Regions from separate parts of the Homo sapiens genome. Here all the other regions are linked to region 1. The links are contacts of gene promoters, found by promoter capture Hi-C in blood cells and fetal thymus (Javierre and others, 2016). All regions are on one chromosome and are shown on one strand. The core of a region is centred on a gene start or on the middle of the fragment in contact, and the rest is flanking DNA. Distances in the headings are between cores, read along the strand shown. Region 1 holds the start of ANAPC10 (anaphase promoting complex subunit 10). Region 2 holds the start of RAB33B (RAB33B, member RAS oncogene family). Region 3 holds the start of RPS3A (ribosomal protein S3A). Region 4 overlaps NDUFC1 (NADH:ubiquinone oxidoreductase subunit C1). Region 5 has its middle 5.1 kb from the start of SETD7.

Region 1 (4,300 bases), core at 583-3,082:
GGATTCCCTACTTGTTTTTCAATAGAAAACCTAGGCACAGTAAAGCTTGGAGAGGAAGATTATAGTTAACAGGCTCCTGCAAACAAAGAAGGATTTGCGGATATTTCAGATTCGAAGACAAAAGTGTTCAAAATTGACACTAGAACAATGACCCTCAGTGTCATTCTTACAGCTGAGAGGAAAAAAGGAAGTGAGGAATACTTAGAAGCATTTACAGTCTAAAGCCAAAATAATTGTAACGCTGTGTAAAAGCATTTCAAAGACTGCTGTTAACTAATGATGTTTAGTATCACATGAAATAGTCTAACCCATGCTTATTGTAGTTTATTAGTCTTACAAAACACGTAGAAGTTAGGAGTGGTACACGGCTCTGATTTCAAAGAGTTTTAAGTTTAAGACATTTAGAAGAACTCTAACTTAATATTGTTTTCTCCCCCTCTCTCCCAATTGTTAGATGCTCTTCCAACAAACAAACAAACAAAAAAACTCCCTTTTTTAAAATAGGGGAGAACTAAGTTCTCAAAAAGCTCACAAACCCCAAACAGCTTTTGGTTCAAATACAGGTTCTGAGCCTTTGGTTACACTAACAAAGTATTAGTGTCAGGTGGCTGGTATACAATGAATATTCTCAGAATATGGGACAAACTACTGCAACATAAATGCCACTATCATAAATGACTAGTTAGCAGTCCTGTTGGGAAAGAGTAAAAAAATAAAACATGTTATTTGGACAGTTCTTCCTCTTATAGATTTTTACCATCAAAAAAGAGAAAATAAGCTTATGTAGTTAATGGGAGGTGGGAATTCGGCTTTGGCTGTCATTCATTCACAATACGTATTAAATGCCTACAATGTACGAAGCCCTGAAGAGATAATAAAGGTATTCTGAGTAAAGACATCAACCTTGATCTCAATGAGTATTAGATACAATAAAAGGAAAAACGGGTAAGGGGAGAAAGTGCCTAGTGCTACAAAAGCGTACCAAAAAAACTATAGGATTTCTACTGGGAAACTACTTGGGACAACCCCAGTCATAGCTGCGTACACGCTGTTCTGAGAAAAGCAGAGTGACATGTGGGCATCATTTCTATAAAGCCTGGGAGTGGACAGCGAGTATTCGACTTCATGGCGGCAAGATGCCATGACTCATTCCACTCAACAAAACGTGGAAGCCACGACTTCCCACAACCAAATATGCACATGTGACAATATATCCATTTTGGGTGCTGGAGGAGTGTGGGGGTACTAGAGAGTGCTGTAAGTTCTAAAGGTGCCTTCCTCTCCAGCAGGTTTAGCTTCAGGGCGGGAGTGGGGTAAAGGGGGAGTGGAGACTACGGCATCTAGGTCCATTCTCGAAGTCCCTCGCGGGTGTGGCAGGCAACAGCGGCGACAGCCGGGTCGGCTGGAGGGGAAGACCGAGGCGCCCCCAAGCTCTCGGCGTCGCCCGCGCTCCATCAGTTCCAGCTGTCCCGCAGGAACCGCTGCCACGCGCTGCTGCTGTCTCCGCCACCTAAGGCCTAACCAAAGGCTCTCGGAGAACGTCCCTACATTCTTTCCAACCTGGCAGATGGCAGCTAACGGCCAAACCTCTCCGGGCTATTCACGTACCTGGAGAAAACGATCCCCTTGCGGAGGGGAGCACAGAGGCCAAATCAGCTCTTGCCTTCACTTTTCAGCCACACAGCGTGTTCTCACGGCCACCGGCCAAAATGGCGGTGCCCAGCCGCCGCACGCGCAAGCCATAGGACGTAGTGCGCGCGCGCGACATAGAGCGTGAGGCGGAACCCTGGAGGTAGGTAGGGAGATATGACGTCATTGAGCTGCGACCCTTGTTCAACGCCGTTGGCGAAGCCAGCTGCTGGAGGTGCCGAGAATCTGAGTTTCGGCAAGCAGCCAGGTCTGGAAACTGTGAGTGTGTGGGCTTTTCTCCGACGTCGAGCGTGGTCCTAGCGTAAACAGATGCATTCGCCTCTCCGGTTTCAATCTTTTTTTACGTTTGCGCTTTCCTCAAGGCCGGTGGGTCAGGAGTGGAGCCTTAGTCATTCTAACGCTGGAGGTGTCAGTAGGACCAACAGAGTCTGGTGCCGACACGGCTTACTGTTGCGCGCTCTTCTAGGCCTCAACTTCCTCTCAACTGTGTGGTCAGTTCAGGGCCGGGAATCCAATCTTTTCCGAGCTCCATATTTTATCCACTTGGTGGCGTCCAGTCCCAAGTCCGGCAGTTGAATTCTGCCCTAAAGATGGGCTTTATTTCTATCTTTTTTTAGGTAACAGGACATTCAGTTAGTAATGATGGTTGCAGGTTGAATAGTCTCGCCCTAGATCTCACCTAACTTGCAGGCAAGTGACAACTAGTTCATAACTGAACCTATTCATCTGTTTATTCATTCAGTAAATTACTTATTGAGCGTTTAAGCCTCAGGCCTTGCCAAAGTTTACAGTCCGTTGTGTCTGCCGTTATTTAGTAAGTATCAAGTGCTTGTGTGCCGATTAAAGAACAACTTCGGATACAATGGGAGGTGTCAAGGAAACGGTATGCAGAACTATTGCACCTATTTTGAATAGCATATATAACAATGTTCAGTAGCAGTAACTGCGCTACCAAAGCAGTTTTACATATTGTTCACGATCCAGTATTGAAGTGTTTTTTCACATATGAATAGACTTAGTAAAATTAACAAAAGATGTGAAAGATGAGGTCAACCTTTTTAGAATGGGCCAGTTATTCACTTCAAAATCTTGAAGCCATTTTCCTGACCTTATCTTCTATGGTAAGAGCATATGTAAGTGAACTTTTAACATTTTTTTCTTATTTTTGTGCTTTTTGGGACAGTGTCTTGCTCTGTTACGCAGGCTGGAGTGCAGTAGCACGATCTCGGCTCACTGCAACCTCCGCCTCCCAGTTCAGGTGATCCTCCTGTCTCAGCCCCCCTGGGACTACAGGTGTGTGCCGCCACACCAGGCTGATTTTTTGGAATTTTTTTAGAGACAGGGTTTCACCATATTCCAGGCTGGTCTCGAACTCCTGGGCTCAAGCAATCCACCTGCCTTGGCCTCCCAAACTGCTGGGATTACAGGTGTGAGCCACCGGGCTGGGTCTTAAATAAAACTTTTGACAGCTAGAGGGCAGGTATGACTGTTCTCTGCATCACTCAATGAATATTTAAAATGAGGATCTTAGTGGGGTGATGGGATCACACCTGTAATCCCAGCTACTTGGGAGGCTGAGGTGGGAGGATCGCTTGAAGCAAGGTGTTCAAGACCAGCCTGGGTAACATAGCTAGATCCTGTCTCTAAAAAAAAAGGAATTAAGTAAATAAAATGAGGATCAATATTTATATATTCCTAGAATAAAAGTATTTCAGTCTGACTTTTCTAGGGCTAAAAGTCATTTGAATTTTCAGGCACAGAATTATAGAACTGCATAGCATTGTAGAAGTAAAAATCATCAAGTGAACCTCTTTAACAGGAGAGGAAATAAAGCCCAGACCTACTCAAAGTCTAGGCTGATTAAAGGAGATACTGAAGCCAAAACTTTGATTCTGTGCTCTTTTGACTACTATAGCTCACTGCTTTGCATATCTGGTCATATGAAACAAAACCTGAATTCCTAAGATTTTTATTTATTTAAAAATAGAGATGGGGTCTTGCCATGTTGTCCAGGCTGGTCTTGAACTCCTGGGCTCACATGATCCTCCTGTCTCAGCCTCCCAAAGTGTTGGGATTACAGGTGTGAGCCACCATGCCCAGCCCCTAAGATTTAAATTACAGTGATTTAATTATATTAACTGCATTCTTCAGAATAAATGATTAATGTCAGGGTATATGAGTTCCATTAAATTTTTCTTGGTAAAAAACTTTTGTAGAAAGATGCCCAGTTCCTGATACAATGTGTGCATTCTTGTTTTCTACATAGAATATTTTAAAAATGACTACACCAAACAAGACACCTCCTGGTGCTGACCCCAAGCAGTTGGAAAGGACTGGAACAGTACGGGAAATTGGGTCACAAGCTGTTTGGTCACTCTCATCTTGCAAACCAGGTAAAAACTAACAAACAAAAAAGCTGTTGGAAATAGTCACTTGCAGTTTCCTTGTACAGGCATCTCCCCTTATCCCAGGGGATACATTCCAGGACTCCCAGTGGATGCCTAAAACCATGGATAGTACTGAACCCTTTCTATATTAATACTATGTTTTTTCCTATACATAAATACCTGTGATAAAGTGTAATTTATAAATTAGGCACAGTAAGAGATTAACAATAATTAATAATAAAATAGAACAATTATAACAATAG
Region 2 (4,057 bases), core at 2-2,501, 5.6 Mb after region 1:
AGGGAATAAAGAATTGGGCGTGTGTCTGAGGTGGCATCATGAGAAATGCTTTTGGCAACCTGAGTAGGAACTATCACATATAGAATGTTTCTGCAGGAAAATAGATTTTTCTAAAATCAGTATCATAAAGAAACTACTACAGCAAAACTGTATGCAAGAGAATACCTAAGTACTTCCTCAAAGGCAATAGGCTTTACTTCCACAACATCTAAGGCACTGCTCGAATGAATGTTTAATAACTATTACTGATTAAATGAATTTTCCATTCTCGCGCAATTTCACTGTTTTTCCTCCGTTCATATTTGACTGACTCCCAGCACACGACACACACAGTAAATGGGTCGGTAGATAAGCCCTACACTCCTGAACTCAAAGTGTGGTCCACGGACTAGCTGCACCTGCATCATCAGCGAGATTATTAAATCATAGCCTGCATTTTCAAAAACAAGATCCCCAGGTAAATCGCATGCACAATGAAGTCTGAGAAACGCTGCCTTAGAAGTTTGCAGTATTGCAATCCTTCCAATCCCCAACTCCAATCTCATCAGCGTGAGAAAAAAATGGAGCGCACACACACCGTGCACACGGCCAGCGACCAGCCCACGGTGGGGTTGGGACACCTGTCACCCTGTCCTCCCCAACAGTTCCCCATCCGCTCACCTTGATGCGCTCCCCATCAATCTCCACCGCTCGTTCTCGGAAATCCACCCCTATCGTGGCCTCGGTGCGGTCGGGGAAGCGGCCAGCGCAGAAGCGGTAGGTCAGGCATGTCTTGCCCACATTGGAGTCGCCGATCACGATTATCTTGAAGATGCGGGAGCGGGCAGGAGGCAAAAACCCTGAGGCCCCTGACACTGCCCCGCTGGACGAAAAGCTTGCCTCGAGCGACGACTCCATCTCCTCAGCCATTCCCCCGACCCGCCCCAAACTGAGGCGGAGGAAAGGAGACACAGAAAGGCTGAGAGATTACGCCACCGCAAGAGCGCGCGCCCAGCCGGCCAGTTCGGCTGCGCAACTTCCCAGGAGCCACCGCCCACCAGCCCCGAGCGCGCCTGCGCACCTTCCCGCCCCGCCCTTGCCCGCACAGGTGTGGCACCCGCCCGCCCCGCCGCACGGAGCCGCCTGCCCGCGGCCACACGCCAGGCGTCACTCGGGCTGGCGCCGGTCTACCTAGGCAGGCGTGGGACCTGTCGGGGGCTTCACGGCAGCGCGGAAGGCCAGCCTGCAGAGAGGCTGGGCCCAGCGCCCTGACTGACCCAGCCCCGCCACGTCCAAGGTTCCCGCCCTCTGGAGGAAGCCGCGCAATCACTCCGGGGGCGGGGAGAGACAGACAACTGAGAGGAAGGAGGTACCACGGGCACTCTCTCGCGAGAGGGCCGCAGAGCCGCCTTTGACGGGGGCGTGTACCTGGAGAGCAACGGTAAGGACGGAGCCGACGGCTCCGGCGTCGGGTCGGTTCCGGCATCGACGTATCGTTTGGTCGCCCCAGAGAGGAGACAGGTTTCTTCAGCTTGCCGCTGAGGATGTGGCATCGGCTGCGCTCACCGCCGCCGCCTCTGTGAACTGCGGGAGTTGGGACAGCGGCCAGGGCTAGATGGGTGGGACGCGAGTCCTCGCCGAAAGCTTGCCCTGTGCGGGGCGCACTTGGAGGCGAGCTCTGGGCCGTGGCGAGTTTTGCAGCCTAAGGTCTTGGCAGGCGCATTGCTGTGGGCTGCCGGAGAGCAGGCTGGAGTTCGAGACCGCCCACCGGAGAGCAGGCGAGAGTTCGAGGCCTAGGTACAGCGCATTTCGCTAGGCATCCCCAAGAATATCCGCGTGATCCTTGTGGCCAGAGTTTGTTGAGCTAATATCCCCAGCCCAAACAGTAGAGCACATCACATGTCGGCCACCTGGGAGCGTTGAACCTGGTAGTTACTAGGCGCCCCTGGTGGAAATAAAACTCATTATGCCCTAGTTATGTCTTAGTGCCTGGGTGACGATGATGTAGCGGTTAAAGATTAACTGAGCGCACTTAGAGGTTGTCTTTGTCTACCTAAGGAAAATATCAATAGATTAAACCCCCAACCTTAAAGAATCTCCGTGAATTTTTCTGAGGAAACGTGCAATATTGTCATACAAAAGGCCCCAAATATGCAAACATTGCTTTTTGTTAAAAGTTTGTTTTGTTTTGCAGTGACATCTGTTTGAGCAGATGAATATGCCATTGGGAAAGTCAAGGACTGTCGGAGAGGAGGACATGGCAGACCTTAACTAAAGTGAGGGGGACAGTAGAGCACTAAAAGTTCTAGGAAAGGAGATGAACTGCTTATTCCATCAGATGAAAATATAGTCAGAACAGATGAGTAGTAGAACTTAAACATGCCCGGAGTTGCCAGGAATTTGCAAAAGCCTTGATATAATTCCTGTTGCTGTAGAAAGACTTTCTACAGTCACTAATATATCAAGTTATGTTCACTAGAAAAAAAGTTTACTTAGTTTATAGAAATGGGCTGAAAAATCCTAATTACTTATCTGTGAGGTTATTTTCATGAAGGTTAATCATCCAGAAACTATTAGAGAGCCTCGGAATATATTTCTTCTAATCTGCTCTACCTATCCCATTCAAAGGAGGGAATCTGAAGATTTAAGGACAAAGAGCAGTTGAAAACTCAGAGCTGTGGTTAATGGGAGAATTTCAAGGATGGTGAAAAAAACTAACATCATTGCATCCCTGTTTTTTGTATTCTGGACTTTTTAGTTTAGCTCTTGGTAAACTACATCAGAAATTCTTTATGCTAACTCTAACACACATTTTGGGGTATTGCTAATTTAATCTTTGAATACTGTTTTTGCTGTTTCATGATTATATGTTATGTCCTACCAGCTAGATTGCCAACTCTTGACTACTGACTGGAAGTTTATTGTTTATTCAGCAAATAATGAATTAAGTCAGTGAAGTGAGAGATTTCGTGTGTAAGGATTGTTAACTTGAACATTTCACCAGTTACACACAGTTCAGCCCTACTTAAATTTTAAAAATCATTGTTGGCACTTGACATTGTTATGAGGAGTTTTGTATTTTCAACTTGTATTTTGAGAGTGTCCTCATGTGACTGAAGTATGTGCTACTCTTCTTAATTGAATAACCCCAGAATCTCCAGAATTGATAATTGGAGGAAATTCTACTGTTGGAAAGAATGGATGGATTATACAGCCCTGTTTTTTGACTGTTCATTTTGTCCTTGGAGTCACTACCACTTGGCCTCAAAGTGTGAACATGTAACCCTTTCCTTAATACTTTGCTACACAGCTGAGCAGAAACTGTAAATTTGGATCCTTTGTCAGTACAACTTAAAATGGAACAATTTCAATGGCTTAGGGTAAGATAAGTATGTAAAGATACTTTTGTAATAGAAGAAAAAACATTGGATATTAAAATCACACAGTAGTACCTGGGTGTGGTGGCTCATGCCTATAATCCCAACGCTTTGGGAGGCCAAGACAGGAGCACTGCTGGAGGCCAGGAATTTGAGACCAGCCTGGCCAACATGGTGAAACCTCGTCTCTACCAAAAAATACAAAAATCAGCCAGGTGTGGTGGCACATGCCTGTAATCCCGGATACTCGGGAGGCTGAGGTGGGAGAATCGCTTGAACCAGGGAGGTGGAGGTTGCAGTGAGCTGAAATCGCAAAACTGCACTCCAACCTGGGCAACAGAGTGAGACCTCCTGTCTCCAAAAAAAAAAAAAAAAAAAAAAAAAAGTGGGTGTGGTTGTGTACACCTCTACTTCCTGCTACTCAGGAGGCTGAGGCTGGAGGATCTCTTGAGCCCAGGAGTTCAAGTCTGCAGTGAGCTATAGTTGCACTGCTGCACTCCAGCCTGGGTAGCACAGCGAGACCCCCATCTCTAAAACATAAAAGTAAACAGGCTGGGTGCAGTGGCTTACACCTGTAATCCCAGCACTTTGGGAGGCCGAGGAGGGTGGATCATGAGGTCAAGAGTTGAGACCAGCCTGGCCAACGTGGCGAAACCCCATCTGTACTAAAAATACAAAAATTAGCCAGTCGTGGTGCCAGG
Region 3 (3,825 bases), core at 158-2,657, 6.0 Mb before region 1:
TCTGCAAATCAGCAAGACTCACTTCAAACACACGACCCTTGAGACCATCAGATGCAATTTCTACAAAAGAAAAAAACAAGTATCTTAACATTTAGGAACCATATAAGCAAAGTCAAGCCTGTAAACTGAGGGTAGAAATTAAGTTAATGGTAAATTATAAAGACCTTAACCTTTGTTATCAAATCTATCCAGACACCAGTGACTTATCAACAGTACTTATTTGAAGCTCAGAACTACCCATGGCACATTTTCTTAATTCAAAAAGCACCATCTTGCTTCTCTCCAAGTGCTGTACTAAAAATGATCACCACAGGTGCCAAGGCTGCAACCAAGAGCTGACATTTCCTTAAAGTCTCCCACCACAGGACCAACAACAGACCAAGATGCCTGCTACAATATACAAGCGCCAACTTAAGGAAAATACAAACCAAGAATAAGCTACTTACTGGTTCCTTGGGTCCTGGTGACGAGCGTCTTTCCAATATTTCTTATATTGAACATAGCAGGTGCTTTCACATCATACCAATCTTTCTTAGAAAATGGATCAACCCTGGATTTTAAGAAGATGCTTAAGTTCCATTGCAGATCAATTCTTACTGTATTTTTCACTGTTAATGGTATTTCCCATTAATATTTTAAAAAGCTAACCGGCAATTTGATACCAAAGTATATCTCACAGTGAGGTGAGGGGAACAAACATAAATCTAGCTCTTCCCACTGTACGTTTCACTGCATGCATCAGACTTTGAAAGGTTATGTCCACTTCCCACCCTCATCGGTCCATCCACTACACAGGCACTTAGAATAACATGCATCGGTCCTTCCACTACACAGGCACGAGTAACATGCAATCTCATTAACTTTGCTGGCACGTAATGGCATGTACTGGTAACTAAGAGACTGCATGGCCCCAAAGCTTAGCAGGAGCTCGCAGATTCCAGCGGGACCAAGCAAAGGCGAGATTGACGGGTCCTGAATGGATAGAAGGGTGCTTTCCTCAACTCCTGCTGTCGCAGTGCCATCAAACACTCGCAGAATTGAGGCAGCTCGTGAGCCCACAAAACTAACATTCCAGCCGAGTCGCGCCGGCAAGCCGGCTCAAACGCGACGCGCGCAAGGACCAGAAGGCCTGGGAAAGGCAGCCGACCTGCCGCTACTCAACACCGACCCTCCAGGCCGCGTTCCTGGGTGCACCAACCCGCCACGGCCCGCACAATCCGACTGGAATCCTCGCCATCCGGCCTACGCCGCGATCTAGGACCAGCCCGCCGATTCCAGCAGACCCCCAAAAAGCAAGACGCCACGACAGTCGCGACTTACACTTTCTTCTTGGCTCCCTTTTTGCCGCCTTTCGTAAGGCGCTTGTTCTTGCCAACCGCCATGGTGCTGGTCAGAGAGCCAAAAGGGCGGAAGTGGGAGTCGCGCGAGAACTTAGGCGTACGGGGGCGGGGCGCGCCGTCTACGTGACCTTTGCCCTGTTATTCTTCCGGCCTCAAGAATTCCGGGACAGTAGAGAGCGCCACTCTTTCTACTGTGGTTGCGACATCGCCATCGTGTGTGGGGAGGCCGCGCGGCATGCCGCGGGCTCACTGGAGGCTGCGCTGTGTAGACCAAGGCGTCGGTGGCCTGACGTGCAGGCGTCTGGTTACCTGTGGTTTCTGTGGCTGTGACGTCGGGAAGTAAGTTTCTGTAAAACGAGACGCCCACTCAACATCGTTCAAAGCTGAACTCACCGTCTAACCCCCAAACCTGCTTTTTGAGAGCATTGGCTTTGGAGTCAGTCAGCGGATCTGATTCAAATGCCGGTTTCAACAGGGCTTTGCTTGAGACCGACCTCTCCACGCTTGTTTCCTCATGCGTAATATGGGGGTGATAAAACGGTCGGCTTCATGAGGTTTCATAGGGCTAAATGAGCATCACTCCAGAGATGCTAGCGACGTTCTGCTTGTTGATGTGGATGCTGGTTCATCTCAGGTGTTGTTGCTTTGTGAACATTCACTAAGCTCTACGCTTATTTGTGTCCTTTTCTATATGTCTGTTATATATTGATTAAAAGGTTTTTTTAAAATAGAGTGAGACCGAACTCGTTGGCTCACACCTGTAATCCCAGCACTTTAAGAGGCTGAGGCAGGGGAATCAACTGAAGCCAGGAATTGGAGACTAGCCTGGGCCACACAGCCAGACCCCGTCTTTACAAGAAAATGATAAAATTAGCAGGGCGTTGGCCGGGCGCGGTGGCTCACGCCTGTAATCCCAGCACTTTGGGAGGCTGAGGCGGGCGGATCGCCTGAGCTCAGGAGTTCGAGACCAGCCTGGCCAACATAGTGAAACCCCGTCTCTACTAAACATACAAAAAATTAGCCGGGTGGGTGCCTGTAATCCCAGCTACTCGGGAGGCTGAGGCACGAGAATCTGAGCTCAGGAGGCGGAAGTTGCAGTGAGCCGAGATCGCGCCATTGCCTGGCCAACAAGAGTGAAACTGCGTCAAAAAAAAAAAAGTGAGATCTCCAAATGTTTCCATTTTTGCAACTAATCCAAACCCGCCTCCCCCATTTTTTTTAACTGTAGGGGTTAACAGAGCACATCCTGGCAAGGTGTGGCTGGCTAGCTCAAGTGTGCAGCCCTCGGAAAGCATCTGGCCCATACAGGCTTGGTACTCAGCCAGTGGTGTGTTGAGTTCCCTTCTCTAACTTCCCCTCTGGCAGAAAACCCTGTGACCAAGCCAAAACCAACCCTTACTTACAAGGCCCCCTGCAAGCTTTTAAACTTACAATCCCTTCCAGTCCTGCTAGCCTCCATCCCCTACCTCCCACTACACCCACCCCCCAAGACAACCTTCCTAAACCTCTAGTAGGGTCCTGAAATCTTTCAGTAATTCCATAAATCTCAGTTGCCTGGAGGATAAATTCAAAGTCTTAGTTTCATAATAGTATGAATGTACTTAACACTACTGAACTCTACACTTAAAAAAGGTTAAGGTAGCCCTGCCAGGTGTCTCAGGCCGCTAGTTCCAGGTATTCGGAAGGCAGAGGCAGGAGGATCACTTGAGGCTAGGAGTAGGACTCCAGCCTGGGCAACATAGTGAGACCCCATCTCTTTTTTAAAAAGATGATTAAGATGGTTAATTTGGCCAGGTGGTGGCTCATGCCTGTAATCTCAGCACTTTAAGAGGCCAAGGCAGGAGGTTTTCTTGAGCTCAGGAGTTTGATACCAGCCTGGGCAACATTACAAGACCTAATCTCAACTAAAAATAAAAAAAAATTAGCCCGGCTTGATAGCTCATGCCTGTAGTCCCAACTACTCGGAAGGCTGAGGTAGGAGGATCCCCAGCACTTTGGGAGGCCAAGGCAGATGGATCACTTGAGGCCAGGAGTTCGAGACCAGCCTGGACAACATGGTGAAACCCCGTCTCTACTAAAAATACAAAAATTAGCTGGGCGTGGTAGTGCACACCTGTAGTCTCAGCTACTCGGGAGGCTGAGGTACGAGAATCGCTTGAACCTGGGAAGTGGAGGCTGCAGTGAGCCGAAATCACACCACTGCACTCCAGCCTGGGCTGGACAGAGTGAAACTCCATCTAAAAAAAAAAAATATATATATATATATATATATGTATGTATATGTATATATTATGGGCCCCCAGTCTGCCTACTCCAGCATAAAAACCAAACTTACCTTCTTCCTGGTCTGATTCCTCTTTCTGCCCAAGAGTGAAAGCCACAGGGAGAGACCTTAATGAAGTCAGCTGCATCTAATTTATTTTAGCAGCACCAGCACCTAAGGGATTTGTCAGAGGTCTGTATTTCAATCCTCAACTTTGTTTTG
Region 4 (4,363 bases), core at 1,650-4,149, 5.8 Mb after region 1:
GGAGCTCTGCTGCAGAGCCCTCGAGTCCCGCACTTCCGGCCGCCAGGTGGCGCTGGTTCTGTTGCCAACTCGGAGAGACTGAGCTGGGCCACGCAAGATGGCGCCGTCCGCCTTGCTGCGTCCCCTTTCCCGGCTGCTGGCCCCCGCCAGGCTCCCGAGCGGCCGTGAGTATCCTCCTCGTGCAGGCCGACTCGACCCTCAGATTACCCCTCCTAAGGCGGACCCAGCCCACGGGTGCAGGAGGCGGCAGCGGCCCGGGTTCGTCCTGCAGTGACCTTCGCCGGCAGACGACCCAAGGCCCAGCCCACGCCTGTCCCCTACGCAGGGCTCTCTGCTCCCCATCACCCGCCTCTAGCACTTATCCAAGTTCAACCTGACCACTCTTGGCCTTTGTAAATGGACTTTGGGTCCTTGCCTTCCCCACCTCTGTACGTTAGGTCCCGTAAACCGGGAGAGGAGACACCCTCCCCGGGGCGCCCCTTACATGACCACTCCCGAGTCGTCTGAGGGTCCGCAAGCCCTTAAACGAGGCTTTGAAAGCCTCGGACAGGACAGGTGCGTCCTGTCTAACTCGCCAGTGGCCCTGGGCGAGGTACTTGATCTCTTTGAACCTCTATTTCCTTGGCTGTTTAAGTGGGAGATGGGGGAGTTGAAGGGAGAATTAAATGCGATAATACGCACGTAAATGTTAGGGTTTTTTCCCTACAAGGCAGTAAGTTACAAATTTACAGACCCTCTTCCCCTTTCAGCTTCAGTGCGATCAAAGTTCTACGTGCGAGAGCCGCCGAATGCCAAACCTGACTGGCTGAAAGTTGGGTTCACCTTGGGCACCACTGTCTTCTTGTGGATCTATGTAAGTACTTTACTCCCGGATGTCGTGAGACTACACCAGCGTGGTAAGGGAATGACATAACATTGCGAGATTGAATGGTGCTGTTATATGTTGTATGGCAGTGAAACTCTCATAACAGTAGGATATTTATATAATCGCTGATACGTATTTTTCCATAAGAGAAATCCCAAGGACTAAAAAGAAATTAAGATTTCAGCAACATTGAAAAAGTATGATGGGACTAAAATTTCTGTTATTGTTCCTTAACATGGTTTTGTAAGGAATGGCAGTTTTACTAAATAGTAATTATACTTTTTTTTTTTTTTTTTGAGATGGAGTCTCACTCTGTCTCCCAGGCTGGAGTGCAGTGGCGTGATCTCGGCTCACTGAAAGCTCTGCCTCGCGGGTTCACGCCATTCTCCTGCCTCAGCCTCCCAAGTAGCTAGGACTACAGGCGCCCGCCACCACGCCCGGCTAATTTTTGTATTGTTGGTAGAGACGGGGTTTCACCGTATTAGCCAGGATGGTCTCGATCTCCTGACCTATTGATCCGCCCGCCTCGGCCTCCCAAAGTGTTCTGATTACAGGCGTGAGCCACCACGCCCGGCAATAGTAATTATACTTTATTTCTTAATGAGAATTGAGGCTAATTGGAGTTTTATGAAGGTACCTTTTTCAGATGCTGTAAGGACAAACCAGCAGTGTGCAAGTTGTACAAATTGAATCCCAGTAGACTTCCATTAGGTTTTAATCAATGTTTGTATAAATACATTGTTGGAAATTGTACATAGTGTGTAGCGACCTTTTTAAAAAAATTTTCAGGCCGGACGTGGTGGCTCACACCTGTAATCCCAGCACTTTGGGAGGCCAAGGTGGGCGGATCACGAGGTCAAGAGATCCAGACCATCCTGGCTAACACAGTGAAACCTCGTCTCTACCAAAAATACAAAAAAAATTAGCCAGGTGTAGCGAAGGGCGCCTGTAGTCCCAGCTGTTCAGGAGGCTGAGACAGCAGAATGGTGTGAACCCGGGAGGTGGAGCTTGCAGTGAGCCGAGATCGTGCTACCGCACTCCAGCCTGGGAGATACAGCGAGACTCTGTCTCAAAAAAAAAAAAAAAAAAAAAAAAAAAAATTCACACCACATGCTTTACACATAAACTTGCGTTTAATCATTTCAACAACACTACGTGGCACCTACTATTGTTGACCCGTTACAGATAAGAAACACTTGGAGAAACTAGTTTGCTGAACCCAGTTCTCCTGACTTCAGAGGCCACACTATCCTAGAAAAGACTGTGAAACACTGCCTCTGTTGGGATAAAATTTCTTTTTAAAGTTAAAGTATCTGCTATATTAATATTTAAAATTTTGTTTTTTATCTAATGGGTTTGGGACTTCCTCCACTGTCCCCCAGCTCTAAGATATTTTAAATTTTCTTGTTGAAGTGGTTCAGATTTTTGACTTGGAAAGGGGTGAGAGATTTTGAGTCACTTACAACTTAATAGTAACTCATCTTTTTGAATAATGTTGCTTATAATGAATTTTATACATTCTTAATTTAAGGTTTTCTCTAACAAGAAGCTTAATTACTGCTGAGAGCACTAGTGATTGAACTTGGATCTTTGATTGCCATGAATGTCATCGTATATAAGCCATTTTTCCAGTTGCATATTCTGTCAGACAGTGGTCCTAAAAATGTGACTGTCCTCCATGACATCTAATTAATACACATACAGTTTCGTGATGGGGTTGGTCATTCAATCAAGGTATCCTACTTCTAAGATTAGAAGCATAACACGCACCCACCAACCAGCCTGGATCCCATTTAATAACCAAGTTGTGCTGTATCATATTGATTTACCCCTTCATGATAAGCCATTTCATTACGTTTATTACCCACCAAATGAGGTAAAATTTTTGGCAGTAGTTTAATTTAAATTTTTGGCCAGGTGCGGTGGCTCATGCCTGTAATCCCAACACTTTGGGAGGCCGAGGCGGGTGGATCACCTGAGCTCAGAGTTCGAGACCAGCCTGGCCAACATGGTGAAACCCCATCTCTACTAAAGATACAAAAATTAGCCAGGCGTGGTGGCAGGCGCCTGTAATCCCAGCTATTCAGGAGGTTGAGGCAGGAGAATCGCTTGAACCCAGAAGAAGGAGGTTGCAGTGAGCCAAGATCACGCCATTCCACTCCAGCCTGGGGTGGAGCAAAACTCCGTCTCTAAATAAATAAATAAATATATATATATATATTTAAGGGCTCCCTTCTCAAATTTAGGATGTCACATTGTGGTGAGCAAGTTTATACCATTCCTGGTTTTTGAACTTTTGGATCTCTTAGCCTTTTATTTCTAACTAGAATAGTTGTTTATTTTTTCTATCCTTATTCCTTTACAAAATATAAGTATCCAGGAAGATTACATTTCTAATTTTAACTGTTTAACTCTTTGTAGCTCATCAAACAACACAATGAAGATATTTTAGAGTACAAAAGAAGAAATGGGCTGGAATAAACTTTTGAAACACTAATGTAGTAAGTATACAAGCTTATTGGATGAATAGATTATGCAAATTAACTTGACCTCTTTTTTAAATACTGAAAAACAAGCTTGTTGTTTGTTTTGTATTAGGTTTATACATTTTAGCACCCATATTTCTGTCTGTGACAAATTTATAAATTTGTAATACCTTGCCTCAAGCAGTTGGTTTTGTTTTGGGGGGGATGGGGTTTTTTTTGTTTGTTGTTTGTTTGTTTGTAGACCTGTTGGCCAGGCTGGTCTCACTCCTTGCCTCAGCTTCTGAAAATGTTGGAATTATAGGTATGAGCCACTTTGCTAGCCTCAAGAATCTTTTAGCGTAATCATTTTTAATCATTAGTCTTTGACTCTGTTCAAAGAAAGGTATGTTTAAGAATGAAACCAAAATCTGCCAGGCGCGGTGGCTCACGCCTGTAATCCCAGCACTTTGGGAGGCCGAGGCGGGTGGATCACAAGGTCAGGAGATCAAGACCATCCTGGCTAACACAGTGAAACACCGTCTCTACCAAAAATACAAAAAAATTAGCCAGGTGTTGTGGCGGGCGCCTGTAGTCTCAGCTACTCGCGAGGCTGAGGCAGGAGAATGGCGTGAACCCGGGAGGCAGAGTTTGCAGTGAGCCAAGATCGTGCCACTGCACTCCAGCCTGGGTGACAGAGTGAGACTCCTTCTCAAAAAAAAAAAAAGAATGAACCCAAAATCATATTATTTTCTTAAATCTGATAGTGCTTTACACTTTGCTTTCATAGCACTTATGACAAATTATTATTCTTCGTGTGTGTATTTCTTAATGTCTGTTTGGTATCTTGTACACTTGAGTGTGAATTCCATGAGAACAGAAACCTATTTTATTAATTATCCTTTATTCAGCAACTTGCTCATCTGGTCCATTTAGGAGTTTAATATTTGTAGAAGTGATGAATGTATAACGGCAATCGATTCTTTTTATTTTATTTTATTTTTTGAGACGGAGCCACCAGGCTGGAGTGCAGTGG
Region 5 (4,345 bases), core at 658-3,157, 5.5 Mb after region 1:
GACTTGCCCCTCTCTCTTATCTTGTCTACAACTGAGAATGAACCTGACCTGGTTCAAATCACAACCTTTGCCACACCATCTTGGGGGAGAGCACAGAACAGGGGACACAGGTGAGGTCGAGGTGCCAAGACTTTACAGCTGAGTAATAACCAGGCTCCCTGCTCTGCTGAAGAACTCACACTATCTCAGACTTAAGACATTCCCCAGATGCCAGGTTGGGAAGTGATGCTTATAACTTCAGAAGACCTACTCTCAACTGGCATTTTTCTCCAAGGAGACAGTACAAGGCCTACCACAGGGCTGCTTTCTTTTTGGTCCTCTATCTTGAGCACAGGAGCATTTGAGCAGGGCTCTTTAAATTTGTCTGAAAGACATTCCAAAAGTTGGCCACAGCATCTTTTCCCAAGAATTGATCTATGGACTCAGCAAGGAGGATCAATAAGACCTTAAATGACCTGAAAGGACACGCCAGATCCAAAGAGGCTGCAAGACAGGTCTCCAGCAAATACATACAGGAAGGGCTGGCTTAGCATCAAGCACCTCCGGGTGAGGGCTGCCTGTAGATCGAGGGTTGTCATTTCAGTGCCAGGTCCCAGAAACACTCTAATCAACCTGTCTTTGTTTGTGACTGAGTGAAGAGGACCACATGGGTATTTTCATTTCTGGATATTGGATTCAAAGCCAGACAGTCCCATTTGGAAAATGAAGAGGACACTTTGCCCTCCATCTATGTTATAGTAGATGGAATCTGCATCCTCAAGGTGGCGTTCCGTTGCCTAAGCTATCATAGCAAAGAGCCAACCTCTCCACTCCTGCACAGAATAGAAATATCTTTGAGCTGAGTGCCCAGGAAAACTTGGATGACTGTATCACAGGACAGGCCACGTGGGTCTTAATATGTCTCTGGTCTCTTTCTCAGAAATCATGGTAGCCTAAGAAGGTTGGCCCACTGTTGATGGCTTGTGAAGCAGAAATGAGGTGCTTTCCCAAGAACTTGAGAACCAGGTTGCTCTCAGAAAGTTTGACTACCAAAATCTGCACACTCAATGGTTTTGACTAGAATTCAGTGGGCATAAACCAAGAGAGTGACTCAATTTGTGACTGAGAAGTTTGAGGATTACCTCAAATTCCCATTAAAGTGACTTGGCTGTAATGCCAGGAAGATAGAGAATGTCATTATGACTTAGAAAGTGTAAATCTGCCTAATGGGCTGTATAGGACGCTGTGTGGAGAATCAGGTTTGGAGAAACTAGAGCACGGAGAAAGAAGCTTGAAGCCTCAGAAGCCATAGGGCCCATCTAAGCAGAGGTGAGTGGGATGGGTGGGCAGCCTCATTCTTTCAGAACACTGTATCAGAGTATTTGTCTTGTGGACCACACAACTAATGTCCTTCATTCTACTCCAGATAACTAAGCAAACTTTTGGATGGAATTTGTCTTCTCAAGTGCATTTATTTATATAGAGAGATCTTTTGCCCTGACAGTGTGAGTATTCTGATCTGTCCATCATAATTCAGGCATACATCTCAGTCTCTCGGGGTCTAGTTAATGTGAGTCCACTTGAGGAAGGTCAAGAGCTGACCCTTGATGAATGTTATGACATTTGTGGTAAATAGGTCAGCTGGAAATACTCCTCTGCCCATCCTGGATATTGTAGTGTCAAAAGAGTATACCATGTACCTGCCCTCTGCAATGTCTACTTTTGCAGAGGACCAATTGCAGGACTCAATAATCTTAATTTTAGCCTAGTAAAGTAATTTTTCAAAAACAATTAGAGAAAATAATATCTATGAAAACACATTTGGTTTTGGTGGCGGTTTGTCTTTATTTTTCAAGTTTCTGCAATCCTATTGTTTTTCTAAAGTAATTTCTAAAACAGATGCCCCTTTGAAAACTATTTCCAATTTTTCTTTGTGTGTGTGTGTGTGTGTGTGAGGGTTTTTTTTGTTGTTGTTTGTTTTTTTGAGATGGAGTCTCACTCCGTGGCCCAGGCTGGAGTGCAGTGCAGTGATGCCATCTCGGCTCATTGCAGCCTCCGCCTCCCAGGTTCAAGTGATTCTCCTTCCTCAGCCTCCCAAGTAGCTGGGACTACAGGCATGCACCACCAGTTTTTGTATTTTTGTAATTTTTGTATTTTTAGTAGAGACAGGGTTTCACCATGTTGGCCAGGCTGGTCATGAACTCCTGACCTCAGGTGATCCACCTGCCTCTGTCTCCCAAAGCGCTGGAATTACAGGCGTGACCCACCGTGCCTGGCCTCATTTTTTTTTTTTCAATCATTTCACTCAGCAGCTTCACTAGGCCCAAGCCTGACATAAGAGTTTTCATATCCCATAATGCAAAAAACCCCAAGAACTCTGTGAAGGAACAATATTGGCCCAGAGTCGACCCAAACAGGGAGATCTGGGCTGCATCTTCCCTCCCCTCCCCGCCCCAGAAAGTCTAAATTTAGTTTACTGGATACCCTGCAATGACATTAACATGTCATTGCAACATTAACATGTTGCAAAAACAAGAATCAAGCAAAAGAGAAAGAGGAAGCTTAATGTGGCATGAGGTATTTTAATACCATGGCAACTGTGGTGTCTTCTCTATTATTTAATTCACTTCCTTAGGTCAGGTTATTCTGCCCTCTCTCTCTTGCACTTCCTGTTGCTGTAATCAAATCAGGTCACCCTGAATCTGTAAGTCTTCTTCCTGACTGCACTCATGTCTATTTCCAGCAGAATGAATTTTCTCCATTTCTTTCTTTGCTCCCTGGACCTTTATTTGGTGCCCTTGATGTCCCTGCTCTTCCCAGTGCTCCACAAGCTGCAAACGCTTCCCTTTCATCCCCATCTCCTCCCCCACCCGTCTCCTCCTCGCTGCTCCTCTCCCAGCCCCTCCCTCCAGCTTCTGCAGTTGTCACTAACACAGTTAGCCACTTGATTAGTGACTCAGTGATTCAGAACCCAGGAACCTTGGTTCTCCTAAAACTTCCATGCTTCCCTCCCTAGAGTCAAGATAAAGGTTCTCCCCTCACCTGCCTGCCCAGATAGAGCCATTAACGTGAGAGGACTTGAGTATTCAGTTTGTTGGAGTTGCCCTGGCTTCTTCCCATTTCCTTTTTATGTGCCTTTTCCTGGGGCTTCTCAGGCTCTATTTACCTTTTCTCCAGAAAAGGTGGACAGAGAAGGTTTGAGCTTCGAATTTATGTAGCCCAACTCTTCATTTACAGATGGGAAAACGAAGGCCCCCCCCCCGGCCCCCGCAGAACTGAATTGCCCAGTTGCTTGGCTAGTTCTTGGTGGAACCAAAACAGACAAAGCAAAAACTCAATCAAACTGGCTAATTTGGTGGGAAAAAATCTTGTGAAGGAGTGAGCAGTGCCAAAACGAGACTTGATGATTATTTAAAAGGTCTTTCACTAATTTTATCCTTGTCATCCTGCTGGCGGTGTAAGCAAGTGATGGAAACCAGAGCCAGGCCAGCAACCATAAAGCCACCAGGGCTTCTGGAGAGGCTCTGATGCGACTTCCTACCGCTGAGGTCTCAGAGGCTCCTCCCTCCCAAATACATGGAGACCCAGAAGACTGCTTGGGCCCCTCCACTCCCTGCCAGCGGGCAGGATGAGGAGTCAGTAACAGCCAACAGTAGTGAATCCCACATAAGTTCCACATTCACTACTTGTTTCACAATTCGCTTAGCATGCATAGCAGCGAATTGACAGAATTGTTTCCCCTAAATGTAGGAAGGTGCATAAAATACAAGAAGCTTGTAAAAATATATTTATTGCAAAAGTTATATCAGTCTTGTATGTAAGCACCAGCCTTCTCCAGGGAAAGACAGGGGTGGTAGAATGAATAAAATTAACTCAGTATTTTGACTGCTTGCTGCAATGGAAGAGGGAATTATGTTTCCCAAGCTGGGTATGAAGAGAAGGAATATAGCCTTGGAGGCAATGGAAACTAAGCCAGAGCAGCTTAGAAAAGTCACCCCTCCTCCTGATTCAAGACCAAAGACAGGGAAAAAAAAGTCACTCTCAGTGTGAACATGAAAGCAAGTCTCACCCAGCCTAGATGTTGGATGTCCTGTGCGGTCCCGTTCCTCCCTGGTAGAGCTTGTTCTGTCTCACTGGGATCTGCCAAGTTAGGAGCTGAGCCACACTACTTCTGCTGCTGCTGTTGCTGCTGCACATTGTTTGTGATTAAGAGTTTTATTGATTTTCTAGCCCATGACCACATTGGTGGGGACAGAGTACGACAGGGGAAACTGGTGGAAAGCCAAGTAGAAAGAGAGTTTATGAAATCAGCTCTCAATGAAGAAAACTGTGGGAAAGAATGCGATGGAAGCAGATTTGGGGCCAG

Evidence for each region. The method cuts DNA at HindIII sites, captures the fragments that hold promoters and counts their contacts. A CHiCAGO score of 5 or more calls a contact.
Region 2: a fragment that was not itself captured here is called in contact with the fragment with the promoter of ANAPC10 in region 1 in 2 of 17 cell types (non-activated CD4 T cells and naive CD4 T cells); the score reaches 8.2 in non-activated CD4 T cells.
Region 3: a contact is called between the fragment with the promoter of RPS3A here and the fragment with the promoter of ANAPC10 in region 1, in 1 of 17 cell types (total CD8 T cells). The highest score is 8.1, in total CD8 T cells.
Region 4: a fragment that was not itself captured here is called in contact with the fragment with the promoter of ANAPC10 in region 1 in 1 of 17 cell types (naive CD8 T cells); the score reaches 6.8 in naive CD8 T cells.
Region 5: a fragment that was not itself captured here is called in contact with the fragment with the promoter of ANAPC10 in region 1 in 1 of 17 cell types (monocytes); the score reaches 8.6 in monocytes.

What each region holds. Positions count from the first base shown.
Region 1 is chr4:145,095,728-145,100,027 of GRCh38, reverse strand. It overlaps ANAPC10 (anaphase promoting complex subunit 10), which reads left to right and starts at 1,832. Exons shown (of 5, transcript NM_001256706.2): 1 at 1,832-1,908; 2 at 3,917-4,043. The coding sequence starts at 3,929. ABCE1 (ATP binding cassette subfamily E member 1) reads right to left here and starts at 1,717. Exons shown (of 18, transcript NM_002940.3): 1 at 1,609-1,717. RefSeq lists enhancers at 1,406-1,485, 834-1,705, 1,736-1,995, 2,076-2,125, 1,259-2,458 and 1 more. The HindIII fragment of the contact is 4,584 bases long and covers 781-4,300 here.
Region 2 is chr4:139,451,048-139,455,104 of GRCh38, reverse strand. It overlaps RAB33B (RAB33B, member RAS oncogene family), which reads right to left and starts at 984. Exons shown (of 2, transcript NM_031296.3): 1 at 661-984. The coding sequence starts at 909. It overlaps RAB33B-AS1 (RAB33B antisense RNA 1), which reads left to right and starts at 1,064. Exons shown (of 1, transcript NR_159964.1): 1 at 1,064-3,430. RefSeq lists enhancers at 687-736, 1,357-1,696 and a silencer at 957-1,286. The HindIII fragment of the contact is 749 bases long and covers 877-1,625 here.
Region 3 is chr4:151,097,210-151,101,034 of GRCh38, reverse strand. RPS3A (ribosomal protein S3A) reads right to left here and starts at 1,407. Exons shown (of 6, transcript NM_001006.5): 1 at 1,321-1,407; 2 at 447-550; 3 at 1-60. The coding sequence starts at 1,382. RefSeq lists enhancers at 484-1,067, 1,088-1,647, 1,068-1,652, 951-2,150, 2,428-2,497. The HindIII fragment of the contact is 1,842 bases long and covers 919-2,760 here.
Region 4 is chr4:139,291,533-139,295,895 of GRCh38, reverse strand. NDUFC1 (NADH:ubiquinone oxidoreductase subunit C1) reads left to right here. Exons shown (of 6, transcript NM_001184989.2): 3 at 1-164; 4 at 750-853; 5 at 3,287-3,366. The coding sequence starts at 98. The coding sequence ends at 3,346. Among named protein-coding and RNA genes, the nearest start is that of NAA15, 7.8 kb to the left of the region's middle. RefSeq lists an enhancer at 1-305. The HindIII fragment of the contact is 965 bases long and covers 2,417-3,381 here.
Region 5 is chr4:139,559,121-139,563,465 of GRCh38, reverse strand. No RefSeq gene overlaps it. Among named protein-coding and RNA genes, the nearest start is that of SETD7, 5.1 kb to the right of the region's middle. The HindIII fragment of the contact is 1,271 bases long and covers 1,272-2,542 here.